Regions from separate parts of the Homo sapiens genome. Here regions 2 and 3 are each linked to region 1. The links are contacts of gene promoters, found by promoter capture Hi-C in blood cells and fetal thymus (Javierre and others, 2016). All regions are on one chromosome and are shown on one strand. Each heading gives the region's core, a stretch centred on a gene start or on the middle of the fragment in contact. The rest is flanking DNA. Distances are from core to core; before and after follow the strand shown. Region 1 holds the start of IMMP1L (inner mitochondrial membrane peptidase subunit 1). Region 2 has its middle 26 kb from the start of SNORA88. Region 3 has its middle 15 kb from the start of RCN1.

Region 1 (4,591 bases), core at 1,837-4,336:
TAACTTTTAACTCTTCCTTTCCATGAATACTTTATTTATTCTCGTGTTTTATATTCAACTCTGCTACTTGCTGGTAAGTTCAAGAATTTGAAATTATTTGGGAGCAAAGATTTTATCTTTGTTAAAAAAAAAAAAAAAAAAGGCGGCTGGGCGCGGTGGCTCACACCTGTAATCTCAACACTTTGGGAAGCCGAGGCGGGTGGATCACAAGGTCAAGAGATTGAGACCATCCTGGCCAACATGGTGAAAGCCTGTCTCTACTCAAAATACATAAATTAGCTGGGCATGGTGGTGCATGCCTGTAGTCCCAACTACTCAGGAGGCTGAGGCAGGAGGATCATTTGAACCCAGGAGGCGGAGGTTGCAGTAAGCCGAGATCATGCCACTGCACTCCAGCCTGGCAACAGAGCGAGACTCCGTCTAAAAAGAAAACAAAAAACAAACAAACAAAAAACCCATATTTGGCTGACGCGCTGGCTCACACCTGTAATTCCAGCACTTTGGGAGGCCGAGGTGGGCGGATCACGAGGTCAGGAGACTGAGACCATCCTGGCTAACACGGTGAAACCCCATCTCTACTAAAAATACAAAAAATCAGCAGGGCGTGGTGACGGGCGCCTGTAGTCCCAGCTACTCGGGAGGCTGAGGCAGGAGAATGGTGTGAACCCAGGAAGGCACAGCTTGCAGTGAGCCGAGATCGCGCCACTGCACTCCAGCCCGGGGAACACACCTAGACTCCGTCTCAGAAAAAAAAAACAAAAGCATATTTATCCTACGATAGTGTTATACCAGATATATATCCTAATTTCATGAATACTCTGGTGTGTATATAGATCATCTTTCCAGAATTATAGTCCAAGTCAAAGTTGGAAAATAATTCTTCAGTTCTAGTAATGAGGCAAACAAAGCACCACTATCATCATCTTGGGAAATCTAAAGGGTTAAGTAAATACAGTAGGAAACAAGGGAATATGTAATACAGAAGCCTATAAAAACGAATTATACCATTATGTTAAGTGAAATAAGTCAGACACAGAAAGACAAATATCACATGATCTTACTCATAGGTGGAATCTAATAGTTCATCGCACAGAGAGTACAATGGTGTTTACCAGAGGCCAGGATGGTTGGCAGGGGGGATGGGGAGAATTTGGTCAAAGATACATAATATCAGTTAGATAGGAGGAATAAATTTCAAGAAATCTATTATATAACATGAATTTATAGCAAGCTGACTATAGTTAATAATCATATATTGTATTCTTTAAAAAAATGTAAACAGTGTAGATGTTATGTACTCTTACCACAAAAATGATAACTATGTGAGGTAATGCATTGCTAATTAGCTAGATTTAACGATTCCGGAATGTACATACACTTCATAGCATCATGAGGTACACAAAACAATGCCATCTGTCAAAAAATAATAATTATATGTAGCATTTCAAAAAGTTCACAGCATCAAAAATATTTGTAGGGGTGGGGGGACAGAGAGCATCAGGAAGAATAGCTAATGGATGCTGGGCTTAATACCGAGGTGGTGGGTTGATCTGTGCAGCAAACCACCACAGCACACGTTTACCTATGTAACAAACCTGCACATGAAGCCCAGAACCTAAAACAAAAGTTGAAGAAAAAAAAAATTCAAGACGTTTCTATCTGATATTGGACTGCTTTGTCACTTTTTCTTTTGGTCTTCCTAGTGCTTATTTACTACAGGATAAAATTAGCACATGCTATTTAATGTGTTCATTTTAAGTACTATGTTGTTTTCTATGTGTTAATTTTATCTCCTCCAGGTGAGACCATTTTTATTACCATAGGTCTAAAATGACAAGATTAAGTCCAAACAGACAGTAATCACTCAACAGCTATTTATTGAGTAACTTAAAGATTCAATATGAAAGCAACCTTGATCAAAGCTTTCCAGTTGATATATTGTGAAACAGGGTTTTTTCCTAAACATGATTCTAAAAAACAAGCAAACAAACAAAAATCCTCCCCAAATGAAAAACTCCAGTCACTATTTAGCAATACTAATTTCAATTTATCAAACAGAATCAGCCCAAAAATTTCAACAGGTCAGTGAGATTTAAAACAATTCGATGGCAAGAATTTCAATGAGGTTTGGCTCTAATTAAAAGGTATCACAGATCACTGTCAAAGTCAATAACTCAGTAGTGCGGTAATGATTTGGGAGTCCTTTTCAATTTAGACATTTGTCAATCATGATTGCCTTTAAACATCAGTTACCCACTGTCCCTGCTCAGTTTTGAAAAAAAAATTAAATACAAAAATACAACTCAAAATACATGTTTTTTCCACACATAAAATTGGTATTTTAGTAATAAACTCTCGATTCAGGGTTCATAAAATAAAGTAGGTATACTTCTAATTCTTCCTAGCAGTTTTTTGGGGGAAAGAAACCCTAAGTATTTTCTGTTATTTGCAGCTGCTTTAACAGCAAACGACAATTAAATGTGTGAACAAGGTTGTCAGAGTAACACTTGTCATTTACACCGCTTAGGAAAGACATCCAAGACTTCCAGAAACACTAATTAAAATTAACAAAAGCTTCTTATCGGAACTTGTCAGAGAGCTATAGTTTGTCAGACACAGGAAAACCAGATAGCCTCAAAGTTCAAGAGTTTTCGCTCTAAGGTTTAATTCCAAACCACCTACCACTAGGCACTAACGAACTAAGCCCAGACGCTCAGCAACCAACTCATTAAGGTAAGAGATCCCATCCTTTCCATATAACACAAAATTAAGAAAAAGACATCGTGGGGAAGGCGGAGTGAATTTTCTATCAGAAATCAGAAGATAAATGAGCAGGAAAAAAGTCTATCCTCACACACAGCGGAGAAAGGTGCTAGCAATTGCTTGATAAGCCCTAAGGGTTTATTGTTTCACCAACCTTTTCTTTAACTCAATGTGAATGAAGGCACTCAAAAGGAGAAGAACGTTACGTGATATTACCTACCTCGGGCCCCAAAGAACCCTGGAGACCCTCAACCAGGACACAGGTGGGCCTTTCTCACCTGGGCCCCGCCGAAGTCGACCGTCCTTTCGTAGGGCGCACTTTTCAGCAATACGCCTTCCGATTGGTTGGCTCGGGACTGACGTCTCAGTCCTATTGGTTACGAGAGCCGCGGTTGGGGCGAGGAGGCGGGAGTTTGGCACTGGTTCTGATAGGACGGGTGTTTGCGTTCCCAGAGTTCCTATTGGGTTAACACTGGAGGCTCTAAGATGGCGGCAGTGGCAACCTGCGGTAGTGTTGCCGCGAGTACTGGGTCTGCAGTGGCGACAGCCAGCAAGAGCAACGTCACCAGTTTCCAGAGGAGGGGTCCTAGAGCCAGCGTGACCAACGACAGCGGCCCTCGACTGGTGTCCATTGCGGGCACGCGACCGTCGGTGCGGAATGGACAGCTGCTGGTATCAACCGGGCTCCCAGCCCTAGACCAGCTCTTAGGTCGGTTCAGAGCGGAGATCTGGGCTCAGCCGAGGGGAAACTTAGGGAGGGGACCTGTCGGGGAAGCCACTTTGACCCCACATCTCTTTCTGACCCCTAAACCTTCGGAGGAGGAGAGAATAGCCTGGTCTGATTGAGATGGAGGGGAATACGGGTTGTGTGGAGACTTCTGAGCGCTGTTAACTAAACATGTTTTAGTGCCCTCGCTCTCTATTTCATTCCCTGCCCTCCAACCCCTTTTCATATTACGGAGGAATTCGTACATGCTTTTTACCCTGAAATGCTTTCTAGTCAAGGGAAGACATTAATTTATGGAGATGGTTTGGCTTTCATTCAGGATACCTCCCTTCTGCTTTCTCCAGGCAGCTCACGGTTTAGACCAGCCTGCAAAAGTTTTTATAATTGTGAGAGACAGACTTCATTAGAAGATGCTGGAAAAAAATGATTTCCCCTCTTTGACCGTCAGACTGCCTGTTCTCTGGTTCTAAATCTTAAAACATTTTGGCTTTAAGAGAGCGAATGTTAAAGGCTTATGTTGACACATAATCCTTATAAAGTATTTTGAGCCTGTCGTTGATATTTAGATAGTGTCTGCGTTAAATCTGTGTATATATTTTTTATTTTTTCTATATACATTTTGCTTCCCAGTATTGATTGCTGCTACATTCCATACGACATCTTTAAATTTAACTCACATTTTAACGAGAAAAGTCTAGTTCTTAGGCTTTCCTTTAAAATCTCTGGAATTTTTTATGAGAAGCCTGCTGAAGAATATGCTTGTTTCATAACTGTTATATTCAAAGGAATGACCAGATTAAGTTGGTAGGACAGATTTGCTGTGTTAATAAAGCTTCTAGATTAATTTCTGAATGCTGTTTCATTAAAACCCCGTCTGTGTTTACATAACTTTTTTCATAGTGTGTGATATGTGTCTGTTAAATCTTGTACACTTTCATAAAATATAACTCATTGCTTGTTCTTGTACTTCGTTTGACATTTCTTTCGGTTATTTTCCCCTCAAAGTAGGCTTTTCATAGGTTTAGTGCAGAGAAAGTAAGAAGACCAGCAACCTATGAGAAAGAGTATGGCTTCTTGATTCTCTCATTTCATTTTCCGGTT
Region 2 (4,591 bases), core at 801-3,300, 660 kb after region 1:
GATAAGCCAGAAAGTAAAGCTCCTGTTTGTGCTCAACTGCAATTCCATCCTCAACCAACAGTCTATTCCAAGTCAAAGAATCCTGAATTCAACTACCCATCATCCTTATTGTAGGTCTAGGCAAAGAAAATATGTTTACATACAAGGTCTCCTCAGTCTATCCCAATGAGGGAGTAAGGCAGTATTTTTTCAATAAGAATTGAACAGAGGGCCAAGCACAATAAAGACAATATGGCCATCAATGCAGCTAAGTAGATGTAGATGTATACATGTGTTTGCTCTCTGCCACACACTGTGCTAAGCACTTTATCTACTTCCTTTGATCCGAGTGCCTAGCATAGAGCCTGGCACATAGAAGGTGCTCAATAAATATTTGTTGAATGAATGAATGAATGAATGAAATAAAGCTCTGTGGGCATCATCATGATCATGTATAATGAGGCTGAGAAAGGGTAACAGAGGTCCCCTAGCTAGTAAGGAGTAAGGCCAGAATTCAAACCCAGGCATAGCTGTGCGTTTATATAAGTTTACCCATACAAGTTCATGTCCTTAACCATCTACTTGCCTTTTAAAAATATTACTTGAATGCCTGCTCTTTGTCAGACATTATGTCAGGGCCAAGAATAATGAACCCTCCCCTTCAGAAGTACACAATCTTGTATAGGAAACAGGGGCATTAACAAATGCATTAGCAAATAATAGATGCAATCATTACAGTAGACACATGGTATAGAAGACACCCCTCTGTCCGATGAGATGGGGTCAGGAGACACCCTAGAAGGGACTCATGGATTTGGGCCAGTGGAAGTCTGGGTATAGGGAAGTTCTGGAGGTCATTCAGCAAGGCAGGCTGAGCAAAGCCAGGCTGGAGGATGTCTTTCCTTACCATCTGATCACTTTTAGGTTCCACCACCAGTTTGGGGTGGTCCTGCCAGATATATCTCAGAAATATTTGATTGAAAAACAACCCTGATAGCATCAGAGCCTGATCTTTGGAGGCTGTGCATGCAGCAAGCATGCACTGAGGGCAGCTGGTCTCACTAAGCTCTGCTGCTGTGACCACCTTGGCTCAACCCAGCCTGGACTAGAAGTCCTCACCCAACCAAAGCCAGGTCGTACCGGGTAGATCAGACTTTGCTTAAGGACATTAACACAGAGTAACACGCACGGAGGCAAATCCAGACTGTGAGGCTCAGTGGTGTCTCATGCCTAAGATCTTTTCCCTATCTGCTTCCAGCCTGCCTCTGTAGCAGAAACCACATTCCCTATACCCACTCCAGAAGTGTCTTCAGCCATCTCTAGAACCCTCTTTGTCCAGATCCAAAGGGTTGAAGTCCAGGGACAGATGGGTGGGACTCCCCTCTCCAACCTACCAAGGCCTCCCTTCCAAGGCCCTCTTTCTTGTCTGAGGGCACCTATTTCCTGGACTTCAACTCTAGGAGTGTCACTCTGTACAGGGGAAACATTGTCTTTTATTCTCAAGGGTGTGGCCTTCCTTAGACTCACCACATCAGGATACAACATCTACAGAAAGGCCCCTCACACACAGCAGAGGCACAGGCTGTGGGTACTTGCTGACTGGTGCTCTCAACGGCAGCTGTCAGTCATGATTCATACACTCAAAAAACAACATGGAAAACTGTCTCTGGGCCATTAGCATGCAAAGCAAATAATATGTGATCTCAATTTTCTAGAGGAGCACTATCCAATAGAGCGTGAGTCATGTACGCAATGTTATATTTTCTACATTAGTAGCCACATTAATAAAAGTAAAAAAAATCAGGTGAAATTAATGTGAATAATATATTTTATTTAACCCAATATATCCACATATTTTCACTTCAATGTGTAAATGAAAATTTTACTCTTTTGTTTTGTACAAAGTCTTACATATCCCTGGTAGATTTTACACTTACAGCACATCACCACTGGTGGCTTCTGGCTACTGTATTGGACAGTACAGGTCTAGAGGCTTCCAGTTAGTGGAGCTCGAAGATGCTCCCATTATCTCTAATTACCTCTCCATGTAAAGTGATATTCAGACCCCTCCCTTACCCAGGGGATGATGGCCCAGGACTTTTCCAGGCAGATTTCCTTAGGCTACCCTTTAACACACACAGATAAACTGCTTTATGCCAAGCAATGGAACAGACTCAAGAGAGTGGAACATTCATGAGCTTTGCAAGGCATCGCCAGCATCTCAGACTACCCGACCCTGAACACATCCCCATCCTTGGATTCCTGCTATAGCTGCTTTGTTTTAAAGGGTAAAAAGGGTCTGTTGATGTTCCCACAGCTGAGCTACCCTACCCAAAGGCTTTCACAGTTGTTGTCTTTGGTTAAATTCTGTTCCATTACTGATGCCTGAGTGACTGATTTTAATGTATTAGACACTTTGATATTAGTAGTTATCAGTTAGGAACTCTTCAGTTGCAAGTGACAGAAAAACCAATTCAAATTCACTCAAACAATAGGCAGAGGGTGTGAGTGCTTTAGCAGTCCACATAACTAGAAGTCACCAACGATCTGATTTCATGCTCTTCCCACTCTGTGTTCCTCTGCATCAACACAATCTCTCAGCTTCACACAGTGCTCTCCTGCAGCTCCAGAAAATCACCTTGAGATCTCAGAGTGTCTTCAAACATGGCAGGTCTCACACCCAGCAGAGGAGAAAGTGCCCCTTCTGCTACCTCTCCACAAATCCTAGTATTCACTCTTTGCCATCGGCCAGAACTGAGTCACATGTCCACCTCCGAACCAATCAGTGCAAGTGGTTGCTGGCTTTCCTAACTGGTTAGACCAATTGAGGCCCACCCCAGGAGTTGAAGAGGGGTTAATCCCACCCAACTGTATGGCTGAAAATGGAGAGGGAAGAATTCCCAAAGAAAAAAACTCAAGGTCCCTTAGTGTGAGAAGCTAAGAGTAGATATTGAAGAAGCCCCAACAAATGTCCACCACAATCAACATAATATGTCCAAACTTGTTACTTTATCTTGCCTGATGTGTGGGTATTCAACGGGGGAATTGCTGAAATATCTAGTAACTTCAACTATGTCACATGGAATTAATTTCAATCCCTCCAGAGAACTGTCATAACTACTAGACTCCTTTGGCTAGAGAAAAATCTCCTTAGCACAACGCTTTTAAGAAAACAAACCTCCCAACTTGGGTGGGATATCCTCAGACTGCTCCATTGAAAGCCTGAATATAATCCAGGGATGTTAAGACACAGATACCTCTTAAGAGTTAAAAATTACAGAAAGATTTTTGGAACAAAGTACAAGTATTCTGTTAGTACCTTACAAAGCCATGTCAAATGTGAGGTTGGCAAATCTTCTAATAAGATCCAATAACATGATTTAAGGAAATTTGTGCTGTTAAATTTCTATGAAAGGGTTTTTAAATAAATTTTTTCTTAAGCTCTTTCTATGGACAAGACTGCACCATGTGTACCAGGGACTCCGAGGCTAAAAAAGCAAGGAATGCACTTTGAAAAAGAATCATTCTCAATACTACAGTATTCCCTGGTATCTTTCCGCTCCATAGGGCTTTAAAATACCACATTCATTTGAAAGATGGAATGTTCTTCCCAAGTTTATCATCTGTAGCAATTACTGTAATTAACAATCAGGACATCCATAAGGTCAGGGTCGGTTCTGCTCACCATTATGTACCCAAGTCCTAGAACACAGTAGGTGCTCTTTAAATATCTGATGCAATGAAAGGAAAATGAGATTGAATGCATTTTGTAGAAGCCTGCCTATTTCAACACAGCTCAGCCTGAAGACTCGTCCATGTGTTCCTCTATAAATCCCCTAGATGGTTGGGACTGAGGTGAGGGGTTGGTGGTGAGGGAGTGGTTGAGAATGAATGGGATGCTAAAAGATGGCCTAAAAGCAACAATGCCCAGTGCGGAGGATTCAGAGATGGAGAAAATACACGAGCTCACTGATGCTCTGGCCAAGAGAGACATCTAAGTAGCAAGAGCACACGTGACCACACATAGCGAAAGGAAGTGTGAAGTGCTGTGGCACAGAGAGGAAGGGGCAATTAATTTTCCCCAGGGGAATCAGGGAGAAATATAAGAAATTATATTATATTAGATTGCAAGTTGTTTTACCAGAAGCTTCCACCGAGACAATATTTAAGACCTCCAGAGACCTAGAGAAATAGTGAGTAGGAGGGCAGGAAGATCACAGGATTGTTAAGTCCCAATCCTCCGAGCCTTAAAGAGTGGCTGATCCGGGAGCGGTGGCGGGCTCCTGTAGTCCCAGCTACTTGAGAGGCTGAGGCAGGAGAATGGCGTGAACCCAGGAGGCGGAGCTTGCAGTGAGCCGAGATCGCGCCACTGCACTCCAGCCTGGGCGACAGAGCCAGACGCTGTCTCAAAAAAAAAAAAAAAAAAAAAAAAAAAAAAAAAGAGTGACTGATCTGTGTTCATGGATGGATGAGTCTTCCCTTCGCTGCCCCGAGGACCTTTGAGTATGTCCCCTCACAGGCCCACGGGTTCCTGTTCTGCTCGATCAAAGCCCAGCCAGACAACACTGTGTCCCAGGAAACAAGAAGTTTAGCAGAGAGGGACTGAAAGTTC
Region 3 (4,591 bases), core at 1,293-3,792, 570 kb after region 1:
CATCAGGCCAAGAAAGCTACAGAGCCACCAAAAATAACAAATAGATCCATGTTCTCTTGTCTGTCCTGCATACTTCCCATTGCAAATGACAGGCCTCCAGCCTCAAGCCGGCTTCACCGTCCATCCAACCACCAGGGCAGTGTTTCTCAAGGTATGATCTAAGAACCACGTGCACCTGCATTAGTATCAACTGAACTCCTTATTAAACACACAGATGCATGACACCCATTCCACACTTTCCAAGTCCAAATCTCTGGAGGTAGTTCTTCTTTTTTTTTTTTTTTTTGAGATGGAGTTTTGCTCTTGTTGCCCAGGCTGGAGTGCAATGGTGCGATCTCGGCTCACCGCAACCTCTGCCTCCGGGTTTAAGCAATTCTCCTGCCTCAGCCTCCCAAGTAGCTGGGATTACAGGCATGTGCCACCACACCCAGCTAATTTTGTATTTTTAGTAGAGACGGGGTTTCTCCATGTTGGTCAGGCTGGTCTCGAGCTCCCGACCTCAGGTTATCCGCCCACCTCTGCCCCCCAAAGTGCTGGGATTACAGGCGTGAGCCAACATGCCCCACCCAGCTGGAGGTAGTTCTATTCTTCAACATCATCAGGGTAGCCACACTAACAACACCTCTTTTTCCTCTTAGTCCATGGGCATTTTCCTTCAATTGTTCTCAACATATCCAGCTTAAGGTCCGTGGTCCATTGTTTCAATAACAAATCTTGCTAATATTGTAAACTTCCTTGCAATTCTACTGTGTTCCTCCAGTAAACACACTCCCCATCCCCCTCAATAACTTTGTCAAATCTCTTCAAACTCCAATTTTCTAATTGCCGATCCCCCACCCTTCTTGCATTTGACCTCACTTCTAATTATCGGAGATTTAGAGATGTCTCTAAGATGTCTCTCCTCTTTCAGACACCAACACATGTACCCCTGTCTCCATGGGCCCCTTCCTTCACCTTGACTCAGGATCCCACCCCAACTCCTTCTCGGAACCTTACACTATCAACATGCCTCCTGCTTTTCGGGTGTTCATCCACCTCCTTTCAATCAATCCTTCCCCTTGGCTCTTTTTGGCTTCGTAGAGTATCATTAGTGACAATTAGTGTGAGTATTCTCTCCAATATCCCAGGAGGAGAATCATTACATCAATGAACACATACTATATACCTGGCTACCACAAGTGAATGTTAACCTGATTGTTACCTTTAAATCCTTTTTTAATAATAATGATAATAATAATAATAATAATAATAATAATAATAATAATGTGTTTCAATATAGTTTTAAAAACTTATAAAAAATTTTAAACTTTTTCTTATAAATTATAAAAATTTTCAAATACATTCAAAAACAGAGAAACTAGTATAATGAACTCCTACTTACCCATCAGCAAGCCTCAACAATTGTCACCATTTTATCAATGTATATATTTTATTTATTTTATTTTATTCTGGAGACAGAGTTTTTGCTGTGTTGCACAGGCGGGAGTGCAGTGGCACAATCTTGGCTCACTGCAAACTCTGTCTCCCAGGCTCTAAGATTCTCCTGCCTCAGCCTCCCAAGAAGCTGGGATTACAGGCATGCACCACCATACCCAGCTAATTTTTGTATTTTTAGTAGAGATGGGATTTCCCACATTGGCCAGGCTGGTCTTGAACTCCTGACCTCAGGTGATGCACCTGCCTCCACCTCCCAAAGTGCTGGGATTACAGGCTTAAGCCACTGCACCTGGCCATATTTTAAAGAAAATTCCGTGTATTGGGCCATCACATTATGCGTCTCTAATTGATAAGGGCCAATTTTATAAAACATAACCTCCAGGCCGTTATCACAGCTAAATAACTGTGATTCCTTAATATCACCTAATTCTCAGTCCATATTTTATTTTCCCAATTGTCTCCAGGATGTCTTTTTATAGTTGGGTTGTTCAAATCAAGATCCAGACAAGGTTCTCATACTGTATCTCATTGTTTTGTCTCTTAAGTTGTTTTTGTCCTCTAATAGTCTCCCTGCCTTTATATTTTTTAAATGCCATTGATTTCTTGGGCCATTTGTTACATAGAGTGTCCCACACTCTTGACTTAGCTGATCACATTGTTAAAGTGCTGATAACTTGTGTCTCTATCTCCCATATTCCCCCATATTTGTCTTTTTTTTTTTTTTTAAATCAAGAGTACTTCATAGGCAGTACTTTTAAACATACTTACATGATGGAGACCACTTTCAGAAAATCTGTCCCTCATCCTCACATCCTCTTCCAGCTACCAACTTTCCTCCTCCCCATCCATAGCTGAAGGAGTCTCCAGAAAGCCACCACGTTTGCTTTCTTAATTTCTTCAGCTTTCACCCTCTCTTCAACCCAGTCAGATCTGGCTTCTGCTCCTGTCACACCCAGAAACAGTAATGACCTCCATTCTTTCAAATCAAACAGATATTTATTTGATCAATTCCCATCTTATTCCAGTTATAGAATTCAATAGCTTAAGGCGGGAATTTATCTGTATCTCTCATAGTTCCATGGATTGACTGGAATCAGCTGAGCAGTTCTCACTTGGGGCCTCTTAAGGAGCTGGCGTCATCTGAAGGCTTCACATCCTAGATGGCTTCTTTCTTCACATGGCTGCTATCCAGGTTGGATCTCAGGAACAACTGGGGACTGGGATCTCTCCCTCTCTCTCCTTCCCCTTCCATAGAGTACCTTCACGTGGTAGTTTGGGCTTCCTCACAGCATGGGGGTTTATGGGTAAAGAGACCTCTTACATGGGGGCTGGCGTCTCACTGAGAAAGTATTTCAAGAGACCAAGATGGATGTTGCAAGGATTTCTGTGACCTTGATAGTCGCGTAGCATCCCCTCTGCTTCAGTCTAGTGATTGAACGGGCCCCACCCCCATTCATTCAGTGTTGGGGGCACTACACGAAGATATGAATTTCAGGAAGCATACTTCCCTGGGGCCATCTTTGGAGACTATCACACTTCTCCTTTGACTCTTCAACAATTATCAGCACCTCAGTAAATTTTCTGATTTTTGAAATACTCTGACCGCTTGCTCCCATAACAAGCCACTTTTCTGTTCCCTTTCTACCTCTCTGACAAAAACCTCTCAGTGGTCTTTGCAGGCCCCATCTACCTCTGCCCAGTCCTCCAGGCCTGGTCCTAGGTTTCTTCTCTTCCAAGCCTCTTCTCTCCCAAGCCTCTTCTCTCCCAAAGCCCTTTCACATGGAGGTCCATGATTTCAATTAATTCCTAAAATGGGCATGACTAAAGTATTATTCACTCCAACCCAAATCTGTCCTCTGAGTATCATATCCCACCTTCTAGAAACTGAGTATCATATCCCACCTTCTAGAAACCTCTTCTTGAATATTACAAAGGTATATTAACATGTTCAACTAAACTCAGAATCAACCCCTGCCCCAAAATAAGCCCCTTCCACATTTCTTCATTTCACCTAATGGCACCTTCACTGCCTCCAGTTACACAGAAACTTGAGGGTCATCTCTCTCTCTCTCTCTCTCTCTGATTGAATCTATTCATTCTATCACCAAAATATTACTTCTAAAATGTTTCTGCCACTCTTCCCCACCTCCACTGCCATCACCCTCTATCCAGGCCACCCTCTGGGGCTATCCCTAGAAGAAAATGGGACCCATAGCAACTCAAGTCAGTGCAGAGTTTATCCAAAGTACTGACCCTTAAAAGGGAGCCACTCTGTACTGGCACTGGCATCTTTTATTGGCTCCAGAAGATACTGTTAAAAACTGACACTCAAAATTGAATTTTAATGATGGTTCATTAAAAAGATATTCATTTTGCAGCCTCTCACCTCAAGTGTGGGGCCCAAGGCAGATACTCCATATTCTCTTCCTGAAGGAAAGGTCTGCTAACAGGTCTCCCTTCATCCACTCTTGCCCCCTAGAACCTGCTCTCCACACAGCGGCATGAGTGCAAATGTGAATTATGTCCTCTGTTTAAAACTCTCTCATGACTTTTCATTGGTTTTGGGGTAAAAGCAAAACAACAACAACAACAACAACAACAACAAAAAAAAAAAAAAAAAAAAAACCCTTAGCATAGCTTACAATATACATAGGAAACTGTATTAGTCCGTTTTCATACTGCTGATAAAGACATACCCAAGACTGGGTAACTTATAAGGAAAAAGAGGTTTAATGGGCTTACAGTTCCACATGGCTGGGGAGGCCTCACAATCATGGTGGAAGGCGAAAGGCACATCTCACATGGCAGCAGGCAAGAGAGAGAATGAGAGCCAAGCAAAAGGGGTTTCCCCTTATAAAACTATCAGATCTCGTGAGACTCACTCACTACCACAAGAACAGTATGGGAGAAACGGTTCCCGTGATTCAATTATCTCCCACCCGGTCCCTCCCACAACATGTGGGAATTATGGGAGCTACAATTCAAGATGAGATTTGGGTGAGGACACAGCCAAACCATATCAGGAACACAGTCTATCCTCTTACAGCATTTTGACGCAAGTAACAGGAACTCAAACTCAATCTTGCTTGAACAATAAGGAATTCTAATATCTCATAGAACAGAAGTCCTGAGGTAGGGTGGCCTTTAGGGCAGA

The links. The method cuts DNA at HindIII sites, captures the fragments that hold promoters and counts their contacts. A CHiCAGO score of 5 or more calls a contact.
Region 2: a fragment that was not itself captured here is called in contact with the fragment with the promoter of IMMP1L in region 1 in 2 of 17 cell types (fetal thymus and naive CD8 T cells); the score reaches 6.3 in fetal thymus.
Region 3: a fragment that was not itself captured here is called in contact with the fragment with the promoter of IMMP1L in region 1 in 1 of 17 cell types (megakaryocytes); the score reaches 5.1 in megakaryocytes.

Annotation. Positions count from the first base shown.
Region 1 is chr11:31,506,536-31,511,126 of GRCh38, forward strand. IMMP1L (inner mitochondrial membrane peptidase subunit 1) reads right to left here and starts at 3,087. Exons shown (of 6, transcript NM_001304274.2): 1 at 2,984-3,087. It overlaps ELP4 (elongator acetyltransferase complex subunit 4), which reads left to right and starts at 3,232. Exons shown (of 10, transcript NM_019040.5): 1 at 3,232-3,472. The coding sequence starts at 3,250. RefSeq lists enhancers at 3,225-4,114, 3,247-3,536. The HindIII fragment of the contact is 1,748 bases long and covers 2,573-4,320 here.
Region 2 is chr11:32,167,603-32,172,193 of GRCh38, forward strand. It overlaps the pseudogene THEM7P. Among named protein-coding and RNA genes, the nearest start is that of SNORA88, 26 kb to the left of the region's middle. The HindIII fragment of the contact is 4,148 bases long and covers 1-4,124 here.
Region 3 is chr11:32,074,191-32,078,781 of GRCh38, forward strand. No RefSeq gene overlaps it. Among named protein-coding and RNA genes, the nearest start is that of RCN1, 15 kb to the right of the region's middle. The HindIII fragment of the contact is 9,478 bases long and covers 1-4,591 here.